Linked DNA regions of Homo sapiens: regions 2, 3, 4, 5, 6 and 7 are each linked to region 1. Evidence: promoter capture Hi-C in 16 types of primary human blood cells and fetal thymus (Javierre and others, 2016). All regions are on one chromosome and are shown on one strand. Each heading gives the region's core, a stretch centred on a gene start or on the middle of the fragment in contact. The rest is flanking DNA. Distances are from core to core; before and after follow the strand shown.

Evidence for each region. Contacts are between HindIII fragments. The CHiCAGO score rates a contact against its expected background, and 5 or more counts as called.
Region 2: a contact is called between the fragment with the promoter of PUM2 here and the fragment with the promoter of RDH14 in region 1, in 8 of 17 cell types (activated CD4 T cells, naive CD4 T cells, total CD4 T cells and 5 more). The highest score is 15.0, in activated CD4 T cells.
Region 3: a fragment that was not itself captured here is called in contact with the fragment with the promoter of RDH14 in region 1 in 1 of 17 cell types (total CD8 T cells); the score reaches 8.8 in total CD8 T cells.
Region 4: a contact is called between the fragment with the promoter of MATN3 here and the fragment with the promoter of RDH14 in region 1, in 9 of 17 cell types (naive CD4 T cells, activated CD4 T cells, total CD8 T cells and 6 more). The highest score is 20.9, in naive CD4 T cells.
Region 5: the fragment with the promoter of WDR35 here is called in contact with the fragment with the promoter of RDH14 in region 1 in 5 of 17 cell types (non-activated CD4 T cells, total CD8 T cells, total CD4 T cells and 2 more); the score reaches 13.8 in non-activated CD4 T cells.
Region 6: a fragment that was not itself captured here is called in contact with the fragment with the promoter of RDH14 in region 1 in 4 of 17 cell types (total CD4 T cells, total CD8 T cells, naive CD8 T cells and 1 more); the score reaches 12.5 in total CD4 T cells.
Region 7: a contact is called between a fragment that was not itself captured here and the fragment with the promoter of RDH14 in region 1, in 12 of 17 cell types (total CD8 T cells, non-activated CD4 T cells, fetal thymus and 9 more). The highest score is 18.6, in total CD8 T cells.

What each region holds. Positions count from the first base shown.
Region 1 is chr2:18,558,748-18,562,461 of GRCh38, forward strand. RDH14 (retinol dehydrogenase 14) reads right to left here and starts at 1,906. Exons shown (of 2, transcript NM_020905.4): 1 at 1,433-1,906. The coding sequence starts at 1,825. All of the region lies in intron 10 of NT5C1B-RDH14 (NT5C1B-RDH14 readthrough), which reads right to left. LOC105373456 (a long non-coding RNA gene) reads left to right here and starts at 1,429. Exons shown (of 6, transcript XR_007086234.1): 1 at 1,429-1,944. RefSeq lists enhancers at 1,066-1,115, 1,926-1,975, 2,036-2,085, 2,096-2,315 and a silencer at 1,326-1,835. The HindIII fragment of the contact is 4,929 bases long and covers 1-2,685 here.
Region 2 is chr2:20,348,877-20,352,590 of GRCh38, forward strand. PUM2 (pumilio RNA binding family member 2) reads right to left here and starts at 1,968. Exons shown (of 21, transcript NM_015317.5): 1 at 1,721-1,968. RefSeq lists a silencer at 1,351-2,240 and enhancers at 1,436-2,065, 2,066-2,697, 2,401-2,490, 2,698-3,327. The HindIII fragment of the contact is 4,637 bases long and covers 1,251-3,714 here.
Region 3 is chr2:20,044,627-20,048,340 of GRCh38, forward strand. All of the region lies in intron 1 of LAPTM4A (lysosomal protein transmembrane 4 alpha), which reads right to left. Among named protein-coding and RNA genes, the nearest start is that of LAPTM4A, 5.1 kb to the right of the region's middle. The HindIII fragment of the contact is 1,471 bases long and covers 1,006-2,476 here.
Region 4 is chr2:20,010,849-20,014,562 of GRCh38, forward strand. It overlaps MATN3 (matrilin 3), which reads right to left and starts at 1,820. Exons shown (of 8, transcript NM_002381.5): 1 at 1,561-1,820. The coding sequence starts at 1,783. RefSeq lists an enhancer at 924-1,536. The HindIII fragment of the contact is 3,809 bases long and covers 350-3,714 here.
Region 5 is chr2:19,987,962-19,991,675 of GRCh38, forward strand. WDR35 (WD repeat domain 35) reads right to left here and starts at 2,144. Exons shown (of 27, transcript NM_020779.4): 1 at 2,031-2,144; 2 at 1,204-1,321. The coding sequence starts at 2,054. It overlaps WDR35-DT (WDR35 divergent transcript), which reads left to right and starts at 2,243. Exons shown (of 3, transcript NR_110235.1): 1 at 2,243-2,533. RefSeq lists enhancers at 1,875-1,924, 1,941-2,444, 2,075-2,124 and a silencer at 2,285-2,364. The HindIII fragment of the contact is 12,234 bases long and covers 1-3,714 here.
Region 6 is chr2:19,971,923-19,975,636 of GRCh38, forward strand. WDR35 (WD repeat domain 35) reads right to left here. Exons shown (of 27, transcript NM_020779.4): 6 at 3,608-3,714; 7 at 2,546-2,711; 8 at 1,641-1,786. Among named protein-coding and RNA genes, the nearest start is that of WDR35, 16 kb to the right of the region's middle. The HindIII fragment of the contact is 1,882 bases long and covers 955-2,836 here.
Region 7 is chr2:19,863,174-19,866,887 of GRCh38, forward strand. No RefSeq gene overlaps it. Among named protein-coding and RNA genes, the nearest start is that of LINC00954, 3.8 kb to the right of the region's middle. RefSeq lists an enhancer at 338-838. The HindIII fragment of the contact is 8,711 bases long and covers 1-3,714 here.

The DNA.
Region 1 (3,714 bases), core at 656-3,155:
TAAGTGATTATTCCTCTATCCCTCCTGCACATGTAAATTGTATTCAGTAAAAGGCTAATCAAAGACCCAAAAGAATGCAACCTTTTGTCTCCCATCTACCTATGACCTGGAAGCCCCCACTTCGAGTTGTCCCACTTTTCCAGGAGAACCAATGTATACCTTACATATGTGATTGATGTCTCATGTCTCCCTAAAATGTATAAAACCAAGCTGTGCCCCGACCACCTTGGGCACATGTCCTCAGGACCGCCTGAGGTTCTGCCACGGGTGCATCCTTAACCTTGGCAAAATAAACTTTCTAAATAAATGAACTGGGAAATATTTCTGGCCTAAGGGCATCATGAAAAAATTACTGAGAAAATTTGGGAACCTCTTCTCTAGACTCAAGAGACTCTACGTCATATAGGCACCTTTCTTGTCCCAGCTAATTTTAAATTTCACTCTTCTGAACAAATGCCCTCTGAATGCCAGTTATCCCTGCAAGAAACTCTTCTACCTCAATCTCAACGGAGAACATCCACTTATGTGGAATTACTTACCATTTGCACAAAGAAATCCTCACACCTCACTGCCAGGCAGCAGGAGGAAAGAACAAGGGTTAAAAGCAAGTGTTCTGGAGACAGACCACAAGCAAGTTTCTTAGCCTTCCTATGCCTCAGTTTCCTCGCGTTGTAAAACAGGGATGATAATAATGCCTACTCCACAGGGTTACTGTGTAGCTTCAATGACAGTTATAGGCAAGGACACTTCATTTTCATTTAAGACAAAAAGGAAAATCTGAAATGCTTGGCACAGCTCCTGGCATACAGATCTTCAATAATGCTGGGTGTTATTTTTATTCCTGTCTCTGTATGGAGCATGACCACTGGGTTCCAAAATGTATTCTACTTGGAAATCAGGCCACAGTCCCGTTAAGGATGGTGCTGAGTTTACTGGTGGCAGCGAGCTCCTTACCCCAGCAGAAAAGGGGCAGAGGCCGGGGGAAGGAGAACTTTTTTTAAAGGACTGATATGAGGTCCTTAGCTAGCAACTTCCCCCAGTGCTCAGGGGTTCTGAAGACACAGCTTGGTGCAAATTCACTTCTGACACAGGAAAAACAATTCAGAGGCCATGGATCTACTTCGGGGCGGTCCTCACGTAACGAAATGAAACGTTCAGAAACTGGTTTATTTATTTTTCTCTTGGGCCCATTTCTTTTTCGACATCCTTAGAGGACAGAAGGCAGCCCTCCCAGTTAGTTTCTCTTTCCCTCTCAACCCTGCAGCTTCCCGGCCGCCTCAAAGTGGCTTTTTGGACTCCTCTCAGCCTCAGCGGTTCCCAAGGTGACACCCTGAACCCCAGGGCGGTCCCTCGCGGCTCAGCCCCAGCCCGCAGTCCCCTCCCACACCGTGCCCAGGCCCTCCCCACCAGCCCGGCCCCCCGAGGCCCACACCTGGAGCATTTCCTGGCAGAAGGCGCGCACCGAGCGCAGCGAGGCGAGGTCCAGCTCCCGGACTATGAGCTCGCCCACCCCGCTGACGCCAGGCTCTGGGCCGCACTCCGCGGCCTGGCGGAGCTCGCGGCGGAGCTGACCCGCCGCCTCCTCGGCGCGCGCGCGGTCCCGGCAGCCCATGATCACCCGCGCTCCCAGGCGCAGTAGCTCGGCGGCCGTGGCGCGGCCCAGGCCGCTGTTCGCCCCGGTGATCAGCACAGTCTTCCCGTGCATGAGGCCGGGGTCCCCGCCTCTGCGCAGCCGCTGGACCCTGGGCCCCACGAACCGGCGGGCCGCCAGCCACAGCGCCCCGCCCAGAGCGGCCAGTACTGCCGCCGCAGTGGCCACTGCCATCGTCAGGCCCGAGGGCCCACCGGCCCCTCCACGGGAGTTCCGCAGCCGCCGCCTTACCGGAACCCAAGAGACCACCTGTACGCGGAGAACGCTGGGGCGCGGCGGGTCGGCCCCTGACGGTGCGCGTGGGGCATGCTGGGACTTGTAGTTTCCCTCTGGGGGGGTCGCCTGATTGGTTGTGAGAGTTCAGCGCCCTGGGTCCTGCGCCCTCCGTGGAAGCTCCTCCCAGCCTAATGATGGAGGCTGGGCAACCAGCACAGTGTTCAGGGTGCTGGGGTTCATACGTATTGAAATCCCAGAGTAGTGGCGGACTTCCCCATGGGAATGTCTGATGAGTACTTTGAATCACAGATCTCTGTACAGGCCCTGTTACAAATGCCACTCCTCAGGGCATTTCGTGTGTTTTCCTTTGAGGGCTCTTGGGACTTGTAAATTCAGTTCAATTCACCTTCTGAGGAATGGGCCCTGACAAGCTGAAGTCTGAGGTAGGACTGTTTTTCATAGATGAGACAAAGAATTAAGCAACATGAATCAGTTGGAAATAGAATGGTCGAGTAGTTCTCAAACTTAAATGCACATCAGAATCACCTGGAGGACTTGGGGTGGGGGTTCGGGGTGGGGGAATGAAACAAAACGAAAACAAAAAACCAGGGCCCCAGTATTAGAGTTTCTAATTCAATAGGTACAGGATGGGGCCTGATAATTTGCACTTTTAACAAGTTTCCAGGTGCTGCTGCTGCTGCAGATCTGGGAACCACACTTTGAGAACCACTGAACAAGACATTATGTCATTGGTCCCTATTAAAAAAAAGAAAGCCATCTTCAAATGATCTTCACACTGGCAGAGGTACAGTGGGAAAAGCTTGGACTTATTGTAAATATAGGCTTCTGAGCAGGCCATTTACAAATGCCTCCCTGCCCTCTCCATAGGACTATTACACACAACGATGGAAGGCAAAGTGCTTGGCTCACTGTAAAATGCCTCATTAATATCAGGGTTAGTGTCACAGGGACCCTTCTTCAAGCTACAAACTTCATAGCTGTAGACCAAGCTACTTTTAAAGACTCATTCGTTCGTCTGCCTCTCCATCCAATATGTGCCTGGCCCTGCCTGTTCCCTGTTAGAGCCACAGAGAAATGGGACACCATTTCTGCTCTCAGGGTGCTTACTTTCTGGAACTGTGATCTCCCACTTCCCACCCTCCACCCATTGCAGGTTCTCCAGACAAGGAAAAAGAACCACAGCTTGTGTCGTTTGAGACAAACTCCCCAATAATTGTGATAATCCATCTTCCACTCCCTTACATTTGGGAAGGATGTAACATGCAACTAATAGTCAGAATACAAAGAAAAAGGGATGGATTCCAGGAGGTTTCTTATGAGTAATGAGAATGGAGCTCAGAGGTGGGAAAGAGCACTCTTACTGGGGATTATACAAGGCACCAGGAACAGGAATCATGAGAGGTGGTCCTACACCACCCTATCCCCAATTTGAAGCTGCTACTCAAACTCATTGATCCCCCAGCATATGTTTCCACTTTATTGTCCTTTCTACCCATCCACATCTTGCCCATCCATCAAAATCACAGGCTACCTCAAGTCTTTCTTTCCTGACCACTTCCAGCCTATAAAGATCTCTGCTCCCTTCATGTGTGACCCTCAGGGTCATGTGTGACCCTCACTGGCACTGAAGACAAACAGCCTTCTAGTATTGGCTGTTTGAGTTTGCACATTTGACTTCCTTGACCAGATTGTTAAGGTTTCAAGTTTCCTAGAGGATAGGATTGTGTCTGCGTACCTCTTGTGGTCTTTGCATGGGAGGACACCTACAAAATGGTAGGTACTCAGTGTCACATGTCACAACTGATATATTTTGGACTGGTTTACAT
Region 2 (3,714 bases), core at 718-3,217, 1.8 Mb after region 1:
CCAGATCTCACCACCTGCACTGCAGTCTGGGCGACAGAACCAGACCCTGTCTCAAACAAGAAAAAAAGATTCATAAACAAGTATGGAATGCTTGAGAGAAACAAAATCCAAGTATTATTTGGTAATTTATATACAGTATTTGTAATGCCTGAGAATTTATTCTAAAGTGACAGCTTTGTAAGAGCAAAGTAAATGTCAGTAATTAATTTAGGCTCTTTTAAAAAGTTGAAATCTTGCTAAATGCTGAAACACCTAAGAGAACTTTGGACTCAAATTAAGGAAAGCATGTGTTAAACACAGCTTAAATTGCTGGAAAATGCGTAAGTTACTGGCAATTATAACTCAAAATAGCTAGACCTGTAAACAAAATTTAAAAACTGGACTTAAATCCTCAAGAACCAGGTTTCTGAAATAAAATTTTATTTTTAAGATTATCGTAAACCTTTTCTGCATACAAAAACTGCCCTCATGCACACCAAGAAAATTCTACACAATGCAATTTCACCAAAAATCGGAATTTTAAAGAAATTCTTGCAGCACGGAAAATGCCATCATTTTTATTCATAATGATTGAGCAAATGAAGTAAATCATTGTTTAAAAGGAGGCTAGGAAGAGAAACAAGTTGAAAATACTCATTTTTGTTTTTTTTTTTTTATTTACAGGATTCCTTAAGTCATCTTCCAATACTCCAGGTCACATGGTGAAGAGTCACCTGTTAAACACGAAATCTAACCATTAAACAAGCTTTTAAAATCCTTCGGTAACTCCCTTTATTAAAATTGTTTTCTTGACATACAGTACCTTTACAGGTATTACATTTCTCTTCACCGTTTACAAGCATTTTTCTCATGTTTTCCTTCACCAAAACATCTGCCCCGTTTTCTCAACAAGTAAAAATCTCAAAGTACTAAGTCCTAACATGATGTCTTATTGCACCTAATATGCTGGCAATACATTCCTCTCTTCAAAAGTTTACGTATGTTAGAATAAAAAGCTAAGTTAAGTAGGTTTTCTCTGGCTGTGTTTTCAGAAACAACACTAACTTTTACACGTGTTTGGGCATGAAACTTTAAACATTTTCCCCAAAACCTGACCCAATTCAGATACAAAACTACTGCTCAAATAGTAGAAGCCGCTAATCTTGTCTTTGGTTTTAATTTACATATTTTTCTGAATATCGAAATCCGTTCCTATAACCTAAACAAGGCGAATCCAAGTCACTGCTTCATACCCACATCTGTCCACGGCAAGCTTTTCCCGGACACACTCGGGCCTTTGAAAATGCCCACACTTGTTTTCATAAACCCACTCCTTCCTCTTCACCCACTTGCAATCCGCATGCTTCTCTGGGGCCACCCGGCCTCTCCCCTCTTTCCGAACCCTAGGGCCGACAGCTCGGTCTCTAACCTCCAGCGCGCCGAATCGGAGGGAGAACCGGGTCGGCGCCCCACGCCCCCGAGGCGGCGGCCCCGCAGAGGGAAGGAAGCGGGAAAGCGGCCGGCGCGGCGCCCCCTCCCCCGCACGCGCACACCCCCTTCCGGCACCCCTCCCCCTGCATTGTGCGAGCGGGCCCCAGGCCGCACCGGCCCGGGCACTCAGCAGGCCCTATCCGCCCTCCCGCTGGCGATCGGCTCCCGCCGAGGCCGCCGCACAAAGCCTGGGGAGCCATCCTCGACGGCGCCAAAGGACCGGAGAAAGAGCGAACGCGGACTGACTTACAGGGCTGCTGCGGCCGCGCTGCCTCAGCCGGGGACACCGACCGTTGGGCACACGGCGGCGTCGCTCTTGGCGGTCCTCCCCCTCCTCCGCCTTCGGTGGCGGCAATGTCTTCTTTCTCCACCTACCACCCTCCCCCCCCACCCCACCTCCTCCTTCTCCTCCCCCTCCTCCTCCGAACCACCGAAGTACCGAGGGTGAGACACAGAGACTCACAACAACATGGCTGCCACCGCCGCCTGCCCTCCCCTCCCCCCCGCCCACCGGGCGCGCGCAGTGCACCCCGGGAGAAAGGGGAGGGGGAGCGCTCACCAAGGCGCGGCTCCTTTTAATGCCTTGCGTCCCTGCTCCCGCGCTGCCGCCGCGCGGGCCGGGGGCGCCCTGCGCGTGCGCACGTTCTCCGCGCTCTCACGTGTTTGGCCGCCTCTCCGGCGTGCCCTCCCCCGCCCTCACCTTGCGGGCTCGCGCTTCCCTCCTGGGCTCCGCCGCGGCGGGCTCGGAGAGCGCAGGCGTACTGTTGCCAAACGCTGTGTTCGACTGTCTTCCCGCGTGGGGCCTCGCCTTCTGAATCTTCTTACCCTCGGCTTCCTACCCGGTTGCTCACTGTTTTCCCCCAACTGGGTGTGCGGGTGTCTGCGCCCGCGCCGCCCACCGTGGGGTACTCCTGGCATTTCGCTTCCAGAGTGCTGGCGCCCACAAGAGCCGGACGTTAATTCAGGCCTTTAACTTTCACTCTGTACCTCCCCACAACCAGACGAGGGAGATGCATCTGGGGGTGGAAGATTGTACCCTGCGAGAGGGCTGTCACTCTTCTCGTGGTTGCACCCCAGGCAGGTGGAGCCAGCTCTCAGCAAATTGTCGGCCCCCAGTGCTTGGTCCCGGTGCACACAAAGGAAACTCAGGTCGTTCTCCAGCTGGGCCAGTGATTCTCACTCGTTGGCTGTTTCTTTTTCTCGCGTACTAAGCGCTCTCTCCTTCCCCGTTTACAGGCTAGTTGGAAACTCCAAATCTGCCTTGCTGTCCTGGACCCCCATGCAAAGCAGTGGTGATTCCAGGATTCTAACCTAACCGGCTCCAGGTCACACAGCTGTAACAGGCACCGTGTCCGATTTGTTCTTGATGGTTTGTTTGCACAGCTCCTGGCTCTCCTGACATGCTGCACTTCGTAAATATTCAGGGCCTCCCGTATAGTTTGCTTAATATATGTCTTCCCTAGGCGACTGTGAGCTCCACGAGGGCAAGGACCTTGTGTTTTGTTTCACACTGTGCCCGCAAGTGCCTGTTGAATACACATGGGCTCTTCGGTTTTTAACTATTACTGAAAAATGTCTGACATTGAAATCCATCCCAAGCCCCTACCTTAGGCTCATATTTCAGGCTTCTAGATATTTTCACTTGAATTTTCTTGTCACCAAGCATGTTAAAAACTGAAGTCACACCCATCCCCTACCCCCCACTCTTGTACTGTCTCTGTAATTGGCAGTGTCACCACCTATTCATTCCCCAAATTACACCTCTGAGAACCATCCTTGTCTCTTCCTCTTACCCCGACTCCAAATATAAATAACTTACCAAGCCTCGCAGATTTTTACTTCCCAAGTAATTCTGGAGACAGTCTTCCTCTGCCTCCTCACTAATGCTAGCCTTGCTTCCCAGGTCTGGATTTCTGTAGCTGGCTCTTAATCAGCTTTCCTGTCTCCAGTCTCACTCCCTCCAATCAGTTCTGCTCACTGCTATCTAAAATGCAAATCCAATTCCTGGCGCTCAGGCCTCTGCTTCAACCATCTCATTGCTCCCCATCACCCACGACAGCATTTCCCTAGTGTGCTGTGTTCAGTGTTAATAGATGTTCCTTTAAGAAATGTCTCACGATCAAGTAAGAATGGGAGATGCTGGGGTGTACACATTTTGCCTTCCTTCTCCTTTCCCCTCCGTTGAGCTGATAATAGCAGAAGAGTCTTTATATACAGTTGCTTAGTGTGGGTGAAACTAGATAA
Region 3 (3,714 bases), core at 491-2,990, 1.5 Mb after region 1:
TCCATGGATAAGTCACACGCTCATCCACTATTATCTTCTTTTAGTACTAGAGACACTTCAAGTTTAATTTCACTGTGGGTCATACCACTAAATATTAAACAAAATAAATCGTAGGGCCAATCAGAAGGACCAAGAAACAGTGAAATAAATTTCAATGCTACTTCATTAAAAGCTTTTTCCAAATCTTCTTTGAGTTAATTATATTCCATTAGATCACATCATTTCATTAGAACCCCAACTTACATCTTAAAGTATTACACTGGAAAACCCATCCTTGTGACTTAAAAAAATTTTTTTTGTAGAGATGGAGTCTCACTATGTTGTCCAGTCTGGTCTTGAACTCCTGGCCTCAAGTGATCCTACTGCATTGGCCTCCTAAAGTGCTAGGATGACAGGCACGAGCCACCGCTCCTGGCATCCTTTGATCTTAAAGATATTCACCAACGAACGCCTACCTTGTGCTCACATGTAAGCCCTGGCAACTTATCTCTGATTAAAGTTGATATTTCTAAATTACATGTTTAGCTTTTCAAAAAATACATAAAATTAACTGTAATCTTACAATACAAAATTTCTCTGAAAATATCCAACTATGTACTAACTATTACAAATATTTATTCCTGATTCACTTTTTCCTTTCACTGTATTCAGGAAAGAAAGTTAATAAAAATGTAATTTAAAAAGAATGATTAAGCTGGGGACAGTGGTGTGTGCCTGTAGTCCCAGCTGGTCAGGTGCCTGAGGTGGGAGGATTGTTTGAGCCCAGTTCAAGGCTGCAGTGTGCTATAATCATGCCATTGCACACCAGCACAGGCAACATAGCAAGACCCCATCTCTTTAAAAAAAAAAAAAAAAGATTAAATTATTAACTTCTAAACTTGGCAATATGGAGAGGTATAGAATGCAGCAATATTTTAGCAGCATGGGCTGCGGATTCACCACTCAATGTGTTAACAGTACTGTAAATTTAATCAGTCAAATCAGGTGGTGTGCATTGTTTTTGAAAGCTTCTACATCTTATGTAAGTGTGTACAATAAGAAATCTGTTAGATTTGACTTGTTACAAAATAACTGTATCAGATCCATGGAAGCACAGGGCCTGAAGAGAGGAATTCTTTGTTTTCTTCTTTCACTGCCACACCTATTCCAGAAGATTCTCTGGAGACTTTAAAAAAAAAATCATTTTTCAGTTTTCCCACAGTAATTTGCCCAGAGCCAGTATCTACTGAGATAATAATTAAAACAGTGTGTCTGGTTTAAGGAGGCATCCAGATAAGGGCTTCCCATGCAGAGAAAGCACCCACAGGAGGGTCAATCTACAGAACTAAGCAAAGCCTGTTATCTGATAAAGATCAAAATTGACTATCTTTAAAACGTTTTTTAGCCATAAAAAAGGATTAGTTCATGTCCTTTGCAGGGACATGGATGAAGCTGGAAACCATCATTCTCAGCAAACTATTACAAGGACAGAAAACCAAACACCGCATGTTCTCACTCATAGGTGGGAACTGAACAATGAGAACACTTGGACACAGGGTGGGGAACATCACACACCTACACCAGGGCCTGTCAGCGGGTGGCGGGCTGGGGGAGGGATAGCATTAGGAGAAATAACTAATGTAAATGATGAGTTGATGGGTGCAGCAAACCAACATGGCACATGTATACCTATGCAACAAACCTGCACGCTGTGGACATGTACCCTAGAACTTACAGTATAATTTAAAAAAAAAAAGTTTTTTGTTGTTGTTTACTGTTACATGCAGATACAACTGAGTATTCACAATATTTTTTGGAGGAGACATTCATTCAACAAATGTGTAATGAACACCTCAAATGTTTTAATTAATAAGTTAGCCATCACACACATTTTATTTTGAGACAGGGTCTCATTCTGTCACCCAGGATGGAGAGTAGTTACTGCGATCTAGGCTCACTGCAACCTCTGCCTCCCCGGCTCAAGTGATCCTCCCACTTCAGCCTCCCCTGTAGCTGGGACTACAGGCATGCACCACCACACCATGCCCCGCTAATATATATATGTATGTATGTGTGTGTGTATATATATTTTTATATGTTTTATATATATTTATATATTATATATCTATATATAAATATATATTATATAAATATATATATAATATAATATATAAATATATATATAATATAATATATATTTTTTTTTGGTAGAGAGGGGGTTTCGTCATGTTGCTCAGGCTGGTCTCGAACTCCTGGGCAATCCACCTGCCTTGGCCTCCCAAAATGCTGGGATTACAGGCGTGAGCCACTGCCCTTATAAAGACATCACCCTCTTCCCTCCAGGAGAACATCTTGCTGTAGAGAGAAAAATAAGAGAAAAGGACAATCCTACCAATGTGTACTGAGTACTATTTAATAAGTACATACAAGAAGGATCCAGAAACTTTTGCAGGTGCACCGTGAGAAAAACAGATCCCCCTGGCTAGGAAGTAAAGAAAGCTTGGCTGGGCATGGTAGCTCACGCCTGTAATCCCAGCACTTTGGGAGGCCAAGGCAGGCAGATCATGAGGTCAGGAGATCGAGACAATCCCGGCCAACACGGTGAAACCCCGTCTCTACTAAAATACAAAAAATTAGCCCGACATGGTGGCGGGTGCCTGTAGTCCCAGCTATTTGGGAGGCTGGGGCAGAGGAATCGCTTGAACCTGGGAGGCGGAGGTTGCAGTGAGCCGAGATCGCACCACTGCACTCCAGCCTGGTGACAGAGCAAGACTCTGTCTCAAAAAAGAAAAAAAAAAAAAAAGGCCGGGCGCGGTGGCTCACGCCTGTAATCCCAGCACTTTGGGAGGCCGAGGCGGGTGGATCATGAGGTCAGGAGATCGAGACCATCCTGGCTAACAAGGTGAAACCCCGTCTCTACTAAAAATACAAAAAATTAGCCGGGCGCGGTGGCGGGCGCCTGTAGTCCCAGCTACTCGGGAGGCTGAGGCAGGAGAATGGCGTGAACCCGGGAAGCGGAGCTTGCAGTGAGCCGAGATTGCGCCACTGCGGTCCGCAGTCCGGCCTGGGCGACAGAGCGAGACTCCGTCTCAAAAAAAAAAAAAAAGGAAAGTTTTACCACGAAAACATGTGAGCTAACCATTAAATTATCTGGACTTGGCAAAATGTTGTTAATGGTTGAAGCTGGGTGATGAATAAATGGGAGGTTTTCGTACTACTTCACTACTTTTGTATGTATGAAAATTTCCTTAATAAAATTTTTAGAAAGTGACTTGGGAGGACAGCAACATTTCAGGGAGAAGGAATAGCATATGCAAAGGCAGAGGCACAAAACTTCCTTAGTTTAAGGAAGGAAACTAACAAATATAAACAAGCTATGCTTACTTGAAGTCAGAGGTGAGGGCTAGAAAGGAATAGAGCTTAAGGAAACCTGTTTTTACTTCTCTCCCAGATACAGAACTTCAAACTGTTTATGGTTGAGACACTCATGAAAAATTAGCCATATATTAAGTCTAAGAGATAAAATTATTACAAATGCTCAAAATGTAGTCTTGTAGTGCACACCATTAATCACAAAGTATATCTACTACAGCACACTTTTAAGTCCATTTTCAATTATTCAATAAACATTTGAGTTTATACCTCATAAGAAACTTGTTTAAAATCAACTGGCTTCAAATTCTTCAATAAATGATAGAGAAAACCATTTCAGGAATGCCAGAATTTAAACATGAG
Region 4 (3,714 bases), core at 570-3,069, 1.5 Mb after region 1:
CTAATACCTGAGGCTTGACCATGGTGGCAGAAAATTCTGTGAACATCTGGTTCCTTCCTGACTGGTACTCCGCATCAATCATTAGTTGTTTTTGAATCTCACTCCCATTTACTAAATAGCAGCAATTTGATTCCCAAGAACAAAGAAAGAATCTGAATCTCCTAAAATGTTCCCATACTCATAATACCACTGAGTCCTTACAGTCCTGCTAGAAATAAAAATCCATAGCGAAGCTTAGCAATTTCTGGTTGCTAAAAGGAGATAATTTGGAACAGGGTGGAATCTCGCATTTATTAATGGGTTATCATTCATGATCAGGTTCGGACTCTAGGTAATGAAAGACCAGTAAAGCTTAGGGGGACATGGCCACCTGGTGCTGAATCTCTCCTTCCTCTTCCAGTCCCATCCCAGAGGGAGGCAGGTCAGGACTAGAGTAAGATTAACTTCCAGAAGAAAGGCTTTCCCTCAATTCCCGGCCTGGAGCAACCAGCCACCAGCTGAATCTAGCCCTGTGGACCCCGGTACCTCCTGCCTTAGCAGCAATGCTTTTGCCATTTCAAATCTGCCACTTCAAATACGGGGACTGAGTATTTGAGTCAGGAAAGAGTCCCTTGAGCTCCTTCTCAGCTTATCCAGAAAGATGCAGAAGGGGATAGACAATTGAAATCAGCCTGAGGCATGCAGCGTGGCTGGCCAAATGAGACTGCATACCCAGAAATGGCCTGGCACAGACTCTTTTTAGCAAGACTGAAGCTGCGCTTTTTGGAAATGAAGATACAATCTTATGTAAACCATATTAAGAGGTTGGTAGGCTGGGGCAGTGGAAAGAGACCTTGCTTGGGATTTCGGAGCCCTGAATTTTATTGTGGCCTCTGATACTGATTCACAGAGTCCCTTCAACTTGATATGCCTCAGTTTCCCTTCATGTGCTGTCAGGGGCTGTGTCAGACGACCTGCCCGCTTCGCTGCACTATGAGCTTTGCTCTGCTTCAGGAATCAATTGCTGACCAAAAAGAGAAATAGAATTGTTCGCCAAAGACCCAGAGTGTCTTGATCCTGGGGTATCCTACGGCTCCTCGGATCTCCTCCTGGTCTCACACCCGCATCCCTTACCTTCCAGTCTGAGGCAGCCTGAGGACTGTGGGAGGGGAGGAAAGATCACGCCCTGATATTGGATGGAGATGGAGAGATTCCAAGAGAACTAACAGCAGAGTCTCAGGAAGGGTTTGCTCACTGAATGGAGAGGTCAGGACTGGGACGGAGCTTAGCAGCAGCCGCTGGGCAGCAGCCCCTGCGCTCCCCAGCTGCCCTGTGCTCCTGGCCGAATCACAGGGGAGTGAGAGCTTCAGGAGACCCACATCTCTAGCCTGGACACATGAGTGATATTGGGCATCTCCCTCCCCTTCTCTGGACCTCAGTTTCCCCCACAGGATTCATCCGGGAGGGGCCTCTTTCCCCCGCACCACGGTCGGCCTGAGGCCGGGATGAAGCGCGCTTGGTGGATGCCCTGGGCTTCTCCTCGTTCGATGCTCACGCGTCCCTCCCGCCGCCCGCCTGTACCTGCACCGCGGGCGCGGCCAGGCTCGCTGGTCCCGGAAGCGGGCGCGCCGTCGGGAGCCGCAGGAGAGGGGCGGCGTCCAGGGCTGCCCCCGGGACCTCGGGTCTCCAGCCTCCGGAAGCCCGGGCGGGCCACGGGGTCGGGGGCGGCGGAGGGCAGCAGCAGCAGCGGCCAGAGCAGCAGGAGGAGTCCCGGGAGGCGGCGCGCGGGGGCCGGGCGCGGCATGGTGGGCTCCGTGGGCCTGGTGGTGTCCGTCGGGGGCCAGGAGCCCACGCGAGGCTCGGATTTAAAGGTCCCGCGGCCTCGGGCCCCGCCCCGCCCCGGGGCCTCGAGCGCCAGGCCGGCCCGGCGAACCCCGCCCAAGGCCAACAAGGAGCCTTGTCCGCGCATTCCAGCGGCAGAAACGGAATGTCTGGGCGAGGCGGCCAGCGGCGCGGTGGTCACCTCCCGCCCCTGCCCTAAGCCCCGAGCCGGCTGCAACTGGGTGGGCTCGGCTGCTGTCGCAACCTCCGTCCTCCCAGTAACACCGGGGCAGGGGGGGCAGCCATCCGCGGCTGCAGCCTGCCCGGCCCTCCACTCTCCCTCCCACCCCAGCGGGGCCTGCGCCCCAGGTACGGGATGGGGACCCCTGGGCTCTGCTTTCCCTTCTGCCACTGGTTTGCCCGACTGGGGCTGAAGATGAAACCCTGCTCCTAGCTCTACATTCCTTTCCTCAGCCAAGTAACCCAAGTTTTGCTGTGGGCTCTTGTTTAAAAAAAAAAAAAGAAAGAAAAGGCCTCACAGATTCTAGGGGCATGAATAGAAACGCTTTCATCCGAGCTTCAAATATCCACAAACATTTGAACTTATATTACCGGGAATAGAAAGTCAAACATACATTCCCCAGAGAGCCCCGTTAGCTGGAAGGACAGCCTGTACCAACACAGGCTTCAAAGGCTCTCCCGAGGCCCCATTTCCTCTCCGGAAGAGTTAGCATGGTACAGGGCTGGAGGCTGCCAGGGGACCCCCATGGAACTCACTGTCTGTGAGAAGGAGATTTGCATAAATGTGGTGTCTGTCTACGGGAATGTGGTGGATTTAGGAAAGAGATACTGACTGCCTGCGGAGACCAGGAAGACTTCTAAAACCAGGTGACATTTGAGCTGCGTCTTAAAACAATGGGCGCGAGTTCCAACAGAGCCTATCTGGTCGTCCTATTTCACTATTTTCCCTCTACAAGTGATCCTCCTCACACGATCCTAAACCTCACTTCTCATATTTGTACCCCATGCTGGTAGCAGCATTATACACAATAGCCAAGAGGCGGAAACAACCCAAGTGTCTCTCTTTGTGTGAATGGAAAAGCAAAATGCAGTATCTACGTACAATGGAATACTGTTCAGCCTTAAAAGGGAGGAAATTTTGGCAGATGCTACAAAATGGATGAACCTTGAGAGTATTATGTTAAGTGAAATAAGCTAGTCACAAAAAGACAAATACTGTATGATTCCATTTACATGGGGAATCTAGAGTAGTCAAATTCATAGAGACAGAAAGAATGGTGGTTAACAGGAGCTGAGGGGAAGTGGGGATGGGGAGTTGTATAATGTATCAATGACATTGGGCAGTGATAGTCACACTGAGGGAAAAGGTCACTCAACTCCCACTGAGAACTCACCAATTTAGAAGGACCTTAGAAGAAACGAGAAGTTTGTAATAATGGGAAGAGGACACTAAGAAGTTTGAAAGAAACTATGCCAAGAAGAGGAGGGATTGATAAATACAGTATTTGCAAGCTCTGGTGGACATTTGTCTTTCGTCTTGCTTTTAGAATGATCCCCAAAGCCTTTGAACCCTACATTAGTCAGGGTTCTTGAGAGAAACAAAACCAATAAATTTTATATACACATACATATAGAGAGAGGGTGGGGGGAGTAATTGAGATTATGAGGGATTGGTTCATGCGATTATGAAGGCTGAGAAGTCCCACAGTCTGCTGTCTGCAAGCTGGGGGCCCAGGAAAGCCAGTGGTGTAATCCAGTCCAAGCCTGAAGGCCCAAGAGCAGGAGAGCCAATGACATAAGGCCCAATCTGAGTCCAGAGACCCAAGAACCAGGAATGCTGATGTCCAAGGACAGGAGAAGCTGGTTGGCCCAGCTCCAGCAGAGAACACATTT
Region 5 (3,714 bases), core at 894-3,393, 1.4 Mb after region 1:
ACAGTTTTAAAAAACTAAAGCACTGACAGATTGAACTATAAAACAGCATAAGCCAAACTTTAATTGGTACTCTTCTTTACTTAGGCTGTCCACTAGCCCTTTGTGTAGTGGTTAAAAACAAGGACTTGAATGTGAGACAAACTTAGTTTCACATCCTTGTTCCGCCACTTACTGGCTGCGTGACCTAGGGCAGTTAACAGCTCAGAGCCTCAATTTTCTCACCTAGAATACCTACTGCCCAAGATTATTGTGAAGTCAAATAAGATTGTGAAGGTTAAACATCCACTACATGGAAAATCGTCAATAAGTATTTATTATTCATACCGCATTCAAAGTTGTAAGGTAATGCTATTCAAAGTGCGGTCTGAGGACCAGCAACTCAGCTTCACTAGAAATGGAAATTCTCAGGCCCCATCCCGGGTCTATTGTGTGGGGGTAGAGCATGAAATCCATCTTAACAACCTCTTCCAGTGATTCTTATACCTAATACAGTTTGAGAAGCTATGTTGTAAGGAATCCAAAAATGTAATGCAGTTTAACCCCCTACATTTTCATTTTATGGAAGACTAAACTAAAGTAGTAAGATCCTCAGCTAACTTGTTGAAAGTCATTCAGTAGTCTTGTGGAAGAGCTGAGATTTAACTCCAATTACCTTATCTAGGTCTTCAATCTAGGGGGGCTAAGAAGTGGGAAGCTGTTTGCTGTGATTCCAGAGAACTAGATAAAGAAAGAAATCAAGCAGCAAAGACAAGAGACCTACTAATAGAAATGTAAAACGTATCCCATTTTCTGTTCTTGGACACTAGGTGAATAACCATTAATGCATCTGATAAGCAGAAAGGATGACACAGACCTGTAAACAATCTGCCAGATTTTCTTAGTGAAATGTTGACTCACAGGATTTCTTTTAGACTCCTAATAATATAGTACAATAATTAGACATAGCATAACACAGTGACTTATTTTCATTCTTCATTATTTTTCATTTTCCATTAATAACTCAGCAAAAACCATCCGATGTTTACATTCAACATTCTCTGAACTTTATTGCAAATATACTCCAGAAAAACACCATAAAATGTTTTGGTAGTTTTCCCTTTAAAATAATCAGAACTGCATATTGACAGATAACATGAGTAGACCGCACTGAACAAATAACATTAGCCAATTTACTACCAAACATGTGGGCTTGCATTCATTTACCTGTCTGCGTCTCTAATTTCAAAACTTTCAGTAATCCATCTTCACCACCGCATGCTATGAACCCTTGTTCCTTGTTCCAGGATACACACTGCAGCTTCACGTTATTGGGAATGGAAATCTGAAAAAGCAACCACAGCCGCACTAGCAACTTTTCACGAAGGAGCTGGGAAGTAAGTCTGCAGGAGATGAAAGCTGAAGAAAATCTTCCAAGAAGAAAAACGAACGGCCTTGCAGAAAAAAAATGAGCTGTTGTGAAAATGGGCATGGTCCCCTGAACTGACCCGGGCTCTAGCATTTGGGAAAGAGGGAAAGAAGTGCACAAAAGAGAAGGATAGTGACTGCGGAGGAAGCCAACGCCAGAGTCTCACCGGATGGATTTTTTAAAGGGAGGACGGGGAGAGGGTATAAATCCATACCACCAGTCCCTCTTCCTTTTTACCTACAACTTAGGCTATCCTATTGTTATTTCTTTTCTCTTGCCCAATGGCTCGTGGTGATCCAAAGAGTTTAAATCACGTGGATCAGCAACAAGTGGAGGAGGAAACATAGGGTAGCACGTGGCGACTTATCCTCAAGCCACCCAAAAGGACCTAGCCAGGGGCAGGAATGGGAGAGTGCTGCGAGAGGGCAGCAAGCTCGGCCAAAGACTGAGGCTCTGGGAACCGCAGGAAGAGGTCGGAGGCTGGACCCGGCGGGAAGGATGGCTGCGGAATGGCGAAGCCACGACCAGGACCGGGTGAAGGAGCCTGGCTTCTCGGGAAGGCAGCGGGAATCGCCGCAGGCTGCGGGAATGGCGGAGAAACGAGGACGCCCCCCAGGAAACTCACTTTCTTGCTCAGGTAGAAGAACATCGTGGGATCCCCGAGAGGGTCACGGCGGCCGCTAAGGCCCTCGACAAGTAACGGTTCTACGTCTCCAATCGGGAGTACCAGCAGCTCCGGAAAGCTCCCGTCGCCCTGGCAACCGCTGTTGCCCGGTCGCATCCGGGGCGCCGCGGGACACTTCCGGTGACGCCCTCGCACCGGGCACCGGCGTAGTGCGCCTGCGCGGACGTCGATGGGTTTGTGGGCGCAGGGCGCGAGGCGCGAGGCGGTAGCTGGGCTAGTCCTGTTCCCTGGCGTCTGGGCCTTTCTGCTCTCCGCAAGGAGCTGGGTCGCGACCTGTCACTGCCAGCCGTGCGCTCGCCCTCTGCGCCCCGTCTCGTGGTCACTGCCGCCCTCCCTCCCGCCACACCTGTGATGATCGCTATGGAGCCGCGCCTCAGGTGGCATTACTATAAACCTAAGAGGAGAGGCGCCCGTTCGAATAAGGGCAAATTATTTAGTATTTTGTAAGTTCCAAAGTTCCAACATTCTTGAAAGGGAAAAGCCATTTACTGTATTTGATAGGCTGGCGCCACTGGCCAGATGAAAGTGCAAATGTGCGTACTGAGATCTTACAACCCTTCTCTGTGTCTTTGGGGATTGGAGAACCTCTAGAGCAATTTAGGAATAGAAGATTTTGTTTATTCCGCTTGTTTTGATATTTTTTAACAGTTTAATTATTACCGCAACCCCGAGGGTCCTTTTAAAGGAATTTCTGTAAACGTTGGGTAATTACAGCGTACAATTGCTATTGGGGCATGGCCTCCCATTTTACAAATATTTGAGCGTTTGGTGTTTTCTCGTCTAGAGTCGACTGTTACATATTCTCTTCTTTTTCTTACCTTCTTTCTTCATTCTCCTTTGTCCTTTTGGAATGCTTGAGAGTTACAAAGCCTCAAAGTCTAAGGCATAGGGCAGAAATCCAAGTAGAACCACTCATGAAATTATTTGGTCTCACCTATGTTTTTATTTCTGGTTTTCCCTTTTACCATAATCTAGCATGTAATTTATGCATCAGTAGTTAATTTCCCCACTTGGAGTCTTTTCCCATCTCAGACAAAAATAAAATAAAAATCCTCCAATCCTTTGACCTGGGTGATTTGTCTCACCCAGCACAATCTATTATAGAATTGACAATAGTCCCTAGTGCCTTTCCTAGCAAATCTAAACTCCATCCAAAATCAGATCTTCCCTCAATCCTAAATGTTTTTACTAGGGAGCCCCCACCTCAAGTAAGCCAATATGCTTTCTGCAGGGCAACATTCCATCCGGCTCTGCTTCCCAAGCCACTTTATATATGGTCCTACCCTCTTAACAGGCCAGTTGTGCCTAGCCAAACCAGCACAAATCAGTCTCCATGAGGAATTCTTTCCAAACTTAACCCAATCCCATTCAGATAATGTTTGCTTTCCATTGTTTGTGTGTCTGTTTAAGATACATTGGCCCCTGTCCATAGGCTCCCTATACTGGACGCATGAGACAAATTAGTATTATCTAACCCAGGAGTTTCCAATAAACTGGTCAAGACATAATTAGTTGAAGCTAGTTACTGATGGTGACACCTGAAAACTCACCTCTCTTTATCTTTCCCTTCTTGCACATGAACTCTCATTTATTCCTTCTATACCACCATTTCTCTGTGGTATAT
Region 6 (3,714 bases), core at 646-3,145, 1.4 Mb after region 1:
TCCTTTATTTCTGAAAATAACTAAACTGTGTCTCAGAGGCTAAATAACTTCTCTACGTCAAACTACACTGTGGAAAATGAATTCAATACCAGATCAACTTGACTACAAACCCTATGCTCTGTTATCTCCTACCATGGCTAAGACCACAGTGCAAAACCCAGGAGCCCCTGGCCCTCAGAATTTAAAAGCAAATTCTTCTCTGAGGTTTTCTTAAGTTTAAATCATTAAGTTTAAATTGTTAGATAACTTCCATCCAGGTTATCTTTCCTACCTTAACAATAACACAGATCCAAATAATTCCCCATATATTCACTCACTCAGAAAATACTGACTACTATGACCTGAGGAACTATGCTAGATACTTTTAGTTACAGCTAAACCAAACCCCACTTACAGTTTTCCGTTTAACACTTAACACATTGTTTTGCAAGACAAACAAACAGACTTTAGAACCCATGTTTTTCTACCTGGGGAAGGCTGAACTAACAAAAATAAGCAGATAAAACATTATGATAAATAAGTAAATGGCAACCAACAAAAATAACCAATAAAGAACAAGAATTAAGAAGGAGGCTATAAATATAGAAATAATTAGAATGCAGATTTTTAATTATTTAGGAACCTTGAAAACTATGCTTTTTTTTTTCCTTCACTTTTACATCTACGAGAAATATTGTCGTTTGACAATGTATAGAGAGCATCTACGTTCTACAGTATATTCTACTGGGTAACTTTGAGATACTGATTCAAAAGCATCAGAAGACATCATTTCTTGCCCTAAAAGAAATTATTAAAATATATAAAAATAACATTAAAACAACTGGTATAGGCTTTTATGCAGCCAAAAATATATATCACTGTAGTCTATGGCGAATTTATAAAAGCCAACAGGGTATTCAAAAGGGACAAAATATAGTACTGGGTTAGAAAATAAGACATTCAAAAAACGTATTAAGCTTAGTTATTAATAAGCTCTCACTTTCTAAATTCTTTAAAATTCACAATATATTAATTCTCCTACTTGACATTTTCCAATGCTACTTCTGAAAATTCTTTTAAAATTAAATTTATTAAAAATACTATTGAGAAGGATAATACTCATATGTACATTTATGAAAACAATGCTTTTATTTTAATGTAGCATCACCTAAGATTAATTATTAAATTTTCTTCAAATAACTGATTACTTTGCAACAAATTAAAAGTATTAGAAGTTTGAAGGAAGGACAGACAGATATGTATGTTTAACATCTAAACACATTTAAAATATCACATTAAAAATCAGAAAAATTAATCTGAAACAACTATATTATACTAAATACTACTCAAAAGCTGGCTATGAAAAGAGACACATATTCAGATCACAGAGAAAATATTCAAAATAACTACTCCATGGTGATTTCTTATGTTAAACTTCTGGTTTTCTGAATGTATAAAATTGTAATTTTTATTTTATAATTATAAAACTATAAGATTATAAAATTCCATGATAAAATACAACAAAGATTTATACTATGAAGATGAAATGTCCCTAAAAGAAAATGTGATAAGTTTACACCGTTTCCTTTGTTATTTTTTCCTCTACCTTACTCACTGCACATTTAAATAGAAAGAAAGAAGATCAATTTGAATGCATTTACCTCACCAAACGGAGTGTAAAACTGCACAATGTTCACATCTTTGTCCTGCATGGCTGCCTTCTGGAAGCCTGCCACAGCTAACACGCTGCCCATGTGGTTCCACTGGATGCCTACTACGTACATGCCAGTGTCAATCAAAACGGGATCTAGTCAGAAAGAGAAAAATGAGGTCACTGTGGGAAAATACGTAGCCTAGAGAACTTTATAATCTTAAGAACAACTTTTAAACATTTTTAAAACTTTCCACATTTTTAAAAAAACAGGGCTGGGTACAACGGCTCACGCCTATAATCCCAACACTTTAGGAGGCTGAGGCGGGCGGATCACTTGAGTCCAGGAGTTCAAGATCGGCCTGGGCAACATGGTGAAACCCTGTCTCTACGAAAAATACAAAAATTAGCTGGAGGAGTTGGTGCACACCTGTGGTCCCAGCTCCTCAGGAGGCTGAGACCTTGAGCCTGGGAGGCCAAGGCTGCAGTGAGCCAAGAACGCACCACTGCACTCCAGCCTCGGCAACAGAGCAAGACCCTGTCGCAAAAAAAAAAAAGTTAAAAATTAGAAATTGAGGCCGGGCACAGTGGCTCACGCCTGTAATCCCAGCACTTTGGGAGGCTGAGGCAGGTGGATCACGAGGTCAGGAGATAGAGACTATCCTGGCTAACAGGGTGAAACCCCGTCTCTACGAAAAATATAAAAAATTAGCCAGGCATAGTGGCACGCCCTGTAGTCCCAGCTACTCGGGAGGCTGAGGCAGGAAATTCGCTTGAACCCGGGAGGCAGAAGTTGCCGTGAGCCAAGATCGTGCCACTGCACTCCAGCCTGGGCGACAGAGTGAGACTCCATCTCAAAAAGAAAAAAAAAAAAATAGAAATTAAAAAAATTTTTTAAACAGAAAAATTCCTTACTTTGGTCATTCTCATGTCTCATTATTTGGCATCTTCCATTATCAAAGCAAACAGCAAGGCAAGGGCAATCAGGCTCCACGTAGCCTTCTGTGCCATGGTACCAATGAATTCCAGCAATGCTGATAGCTCCAGTGACATTCACCAAACAACTCAGTTTCATTTTTATCTAAATAAAATTGGTTAGGTTTAATATTTTACATTTTAAAACACAGCAGTATAGAGACAATACTCAATAGAGTATTGTAGAAAGAACACTGAAAAATACAGTCTAAAAATCAGGTGGCAAATTAAAGCTTAATCACTTACTGGTATACAGGCCATGGACAAATCACCTAAATGTCCATTTTCCCCACATGTAAAAAATGAGGATTAAAAAACACTGAGTTTTTATGAGACTCAAACAACAAGTATATAAAAGTACTTTGAAAACAGCAAAATGACATAAAAGTTCATTATTTTACTTCCACCAGTGAGTGGATTTACTTAATGTCCTAACCCTTGCTAAAAAACAAAACTGCCCCACCAGTAATCATACATCTATGATAGCTAAACCTTGCAAAGCCAGAATTTTTCTCCAGATTATGCTGCCTGATCCTATTCTATTTTACCTTCTTTCCAGGGATTGATTTTTCTCACTTACCATTTAAGTCTGTCATTCTTTTTACAAACAACCATTGGTAGCTTGCTACAAAAATACCCTGTGGTATCTACATGTAAACTTTGGCTTCAGACACCAGAAGACACCTATAAAACTTAAACTGCACATCGCCCTACTCATTATCTCTCTGCTTAAATGCACTGACACCTCGTCCTTTCTACCTACCAAAAAAAATTGGAACTAAAAGCTACACTCGAACTTGTTGCACTAATTTGCCTTGAGAAAACCAAAATTTTATTTAATTAAAACAAAATTTAGACGATTGGGAAAAAGAAAAAAAATCTGAATTGAAGACTTTAATTACACAAACCGCCATAAAAAATAAATGTATATACAAACATGAATGATATGTACGATAATCATATAAAATTGTATAAACAAGACTGATGCATACACTTACTTACCATAAAATTTCCTTGATTATCGTAAATGTGTATTTCCCCATTTGCCATTCCAAAAAGTAAGACTTTACTGTCCGCAGACCATGTTACATGGGATAGCTGTATACCCT
Region 7 (3,714 bases), core at 842-3,341, 1.3 Mb after region 1:
ATCAGATCTCGTGAGAACTCACTATCACGAGAACAAACAGCAGGGGGGAACCGCCCCCCTGATCCAATCACTTCCCACCAGGTCCGTCCCCTGACACATAGGGATTACAATTCAACACGAGATTTGGGTGGGGACACAGAGCCAAACCATACCATCCACAGAAAAGCATGCTCTTACACAGTCGGGATACATCCTGCTGTTGTCTGCAAACAGCTTGCGTTTACAGGGAGCAACAGCACCATCTCTGGCTGAGTCAGGCCCATCTGCCTTCAGAACAGAGCCTGGCCAAGGGGCCACCTCCCCGCGCGGGACAGGCCAGCACACAGTAGGCGCTCAAGGAGCCGGGGACAGAGGCGAGGGCGGCCCACTCGTGGAGCGAGGGCGACACCCAGTGGCCATGTGGAAAATGACCTGCTCGAGCCCAAAGGCGGGTGGCAGCAGCGTCTGATCCGCCAGCCTCAGGCCAGGAGGCGGTGGCCGAGTCCGATTTGAGTCCCATGTCCTCTGGACTGCAAGTTGAGACTCCCGGTCCCAGGAGGGACAGCAAGGCCTTCTCCACCTTCACAGGCCATCTGACTACCTGCGCAGCTGTTTAAAGAGCAAACCGCGCATGAGTTAGGCCGCTTGGCCCTCCCATTCAGACCCCTCAGGCCGCCTGTGGACAGCCTGGCTCACCCTCTAAGAGCCTTCCTGCCCGCCCTGGGAACACACACCGCAGGGTCCAGGGACTGGCGTCAGGAGCAGAGCGAACTCAGCGCCACCTGGGCTCCAGGCCAGGCTCTGCTCCAGGACTGGCCCCTCCCCGATTCCCATCCCTGAAGCCAGGGCCACTGGGGTTATAGTGAACCGCTTCTGAGGACACGTGCAGCTAAGGGTGAGCAACTTGTTTTTTGTTTGTTTGTGTTTTGTGTGTGTGTGGTTTTGTTTTGTTTTGTTTTTTGAGATGGAGTCTCACTCTGTCGCCCACACTGGAGTGCAATGGCGCGATCTCGGCTCACTGCAGCCTCTGCCTCCCAGATTCCAGCGATTCTCCTGCCTCAGCCTCCCGAGTAGCTGGGATTACAAGTACCTACCACCACACCAAGCTAATTTTTGTATTTTTAGTAGAGATGGGGTTTCATCATGTTGGCCAGACTGGTCACAAACTCCTGGCCTCAAGTGATCCGCCCGCCTGGGGCCTCCCAAAGTGCTGGGATTACAGGCGTGAGCCACCCCACCCTGGGTAAGCCATTTGTCTTCAAGACCCCAAGCCTTGATATCAGACAGCTGGGTTCAAATCCGATCTCTGCCCCGCCCAGCTCTGCAGCCTCGGGAAATTCTCTATGGGGCCTTTCCTCTCTTGGGTTACCACGGAGATTCGATGATGGCAGGTGCTTAAAGCTCCCCACGTGGTACCTTTCCCGTAACAGGTGCTCAGTGGTCGCGGGCTCTTCTTTAGCTTTGTCTGCATATCAGCACGACAGAAAACAGCTGCACCGTATCTCAGGCAGCCCCAGGTATGTGGAACTAAGTGATCAAAATCAGAGACATCTGCCTCTGCTGTTCTGCAAAGCCTCTGCCCTTCCTCTCACACAGACCTGATCACACCCCCACACCAAAACATACACGTGCAAGCTGCCCAGGGCCCCTTGCTGACTGCCTCAGGGTCAAGTTCACACCGATCCCCCCACCACCAGCACAATTATCCAGCCTGGAACCCCAAGTATCCATCCTAGAAGCTGCTGTCCCCTGTTGCCCTCATCCCCACCCCTCCAGCCGCCTAGAGAAGACTGGGAAAGCCCAGAGAAGAGCAGGGCAGGCCCCTCTACTTGTTCCCTTACTCAGGCAGGTCCAAGGCAGGGCCCTGGAGCCCAGGGACAGAGGACAGGGAGGGTCCTAGGCCCACCCAGCTCAGAAGCTCAGTGGAGAGGAAGGAAGGGCTCAAGAAGCTAGAAGGATGCGGTTGTTACTACCTTCGACAGAACCAACAAACCAAGCTCAGAGCCAATTCTTAGGCAGAGTGTGTCAAGTAAATCTTACTTTCAAGCCCTGGGAAGATGTACCCTCATGCTAGCGGTGGGGGTGGGCATTCCTGTTGTACTAGGGGCTGTGACCCCTCCCAAGACCCAGCCTTACAGTATGGCTGCAGAACTACCCCTCCCACTAAGTGTCCTCATCCTCCCTCAGCCACAGCCTGAGATGAGCCTGCAGGGCCTTTCCACTCAGTGACTTTAGATAAGCAGAAACAGAGGCCTGGAGAGTTTAGGGGAATTGCCCAAAACCACAGAGCGAGTAAGTGGTAGAAGCAGGTGAAATTGTTTAACATTATTTTATTTGACCCAGTATATCTAAAATATTATCATCTTGACACAATATGAAAATGTTAGAGGTACTTTACATTCTTTTATTTATACTAACTCTTAAAAATCTGGTATATATTTAACACTTAACAGCCCATCTCAGTTTGGGTGCTAAATTTTCATTGAAAATACTTGATCTGTATTTAGATTTCATAAACTTTGCAGTGGCAGATTCACATACTTTAAATGTGAATTTGTTGTTCCAAACAAAGTGTTCACATGAAGTGTGAGTTCATTTCACCCACTCCACTGCCGTACTTTAAAATTTTTTAGTAACTGAATTGTTGGCTTTGGGTTTGTTGTTGTTGTTGTTGTTTTTGGAGATAGGGTCTTGCTCTGTCACCCAGGCTGGAGTGCAGTGGTGAGATCATAGCTCACTGCAGCCTTGACTTCCCAGGCTCAAGCAATCCTCCCACCTCAGCTTCCTGAGTAGCTGGGACCACAGGCATGCACCACCATCCCCAGCTTTTTTTTTTTTTTTTTCTATTTTTTTGTAGACATGAGGTCTCACGATGTTGTCCAGGTTGGTCTTGAACTCCTGGGCTCAAGTGATCCTCCCACCTGGGCCTTCCAAAATGCTGAGATTGTAGGCGTGAGCCACTGTGCCCAGCCAGTATTTTTTATTTTAAATGAATTCAAATGAGAAATTCAGTTCCTCAGTAACACTGGTGACACTTCAAGTGTTCAGTAGTTGCATATGCTAGTGTCTATCAGTGGACAAGCTAGCACTAGATCTTTTTGCAGAATCCTTAAATGAGACCATACCCAGCTATACAGCACTTAGAAATCCATGTCTTGGCCGGGCACAGTGGCTCACACCTGTAATTCCAGCACTTTGAGAGGCAGAGGTGGGTGGATCACCTGAGATTAGGAGTTCAAGACCACCCTGGCCAACACAGTGAAACCCCGACTCTACTATAAATACAAAAATCAGCCGGGCATGGTGGTGCCCACCTGTAATCCCAGCTACTCAGGAGGCTGAGGCAGGAGAATCACTGGAACCTGGGAGGCTGAGGCTGCAGTGAGCCAAGATTGCGCCACTGCACTCCAGCCTTGGCAACAGAGTGAGACTGTGTCTCAAAAAAGAAAAGAAATCCCTGTCTTTTCTTGTCCTGTCCAAGTACTCAGTTTCTACAGGCTTCATGTTATAGGGCGGTGTGTCCCAAATCCCTCTAGCTGATTTAGGGGTATGAGTAACAGTTAAAGCATCAAGAGAAGTAGCCACCAAATAGAAATGAAAGTATGGTGCCATTTCTGCTCATGTAGCCACTACCCCTAAAGAGGCAACACTTGTAAAGCATCCATGGAGTAAAACAAGTCTGCACATCTCAACAACTCAAGGGCACTAAGCAAAGACCATGGAGCTGCAGCAACA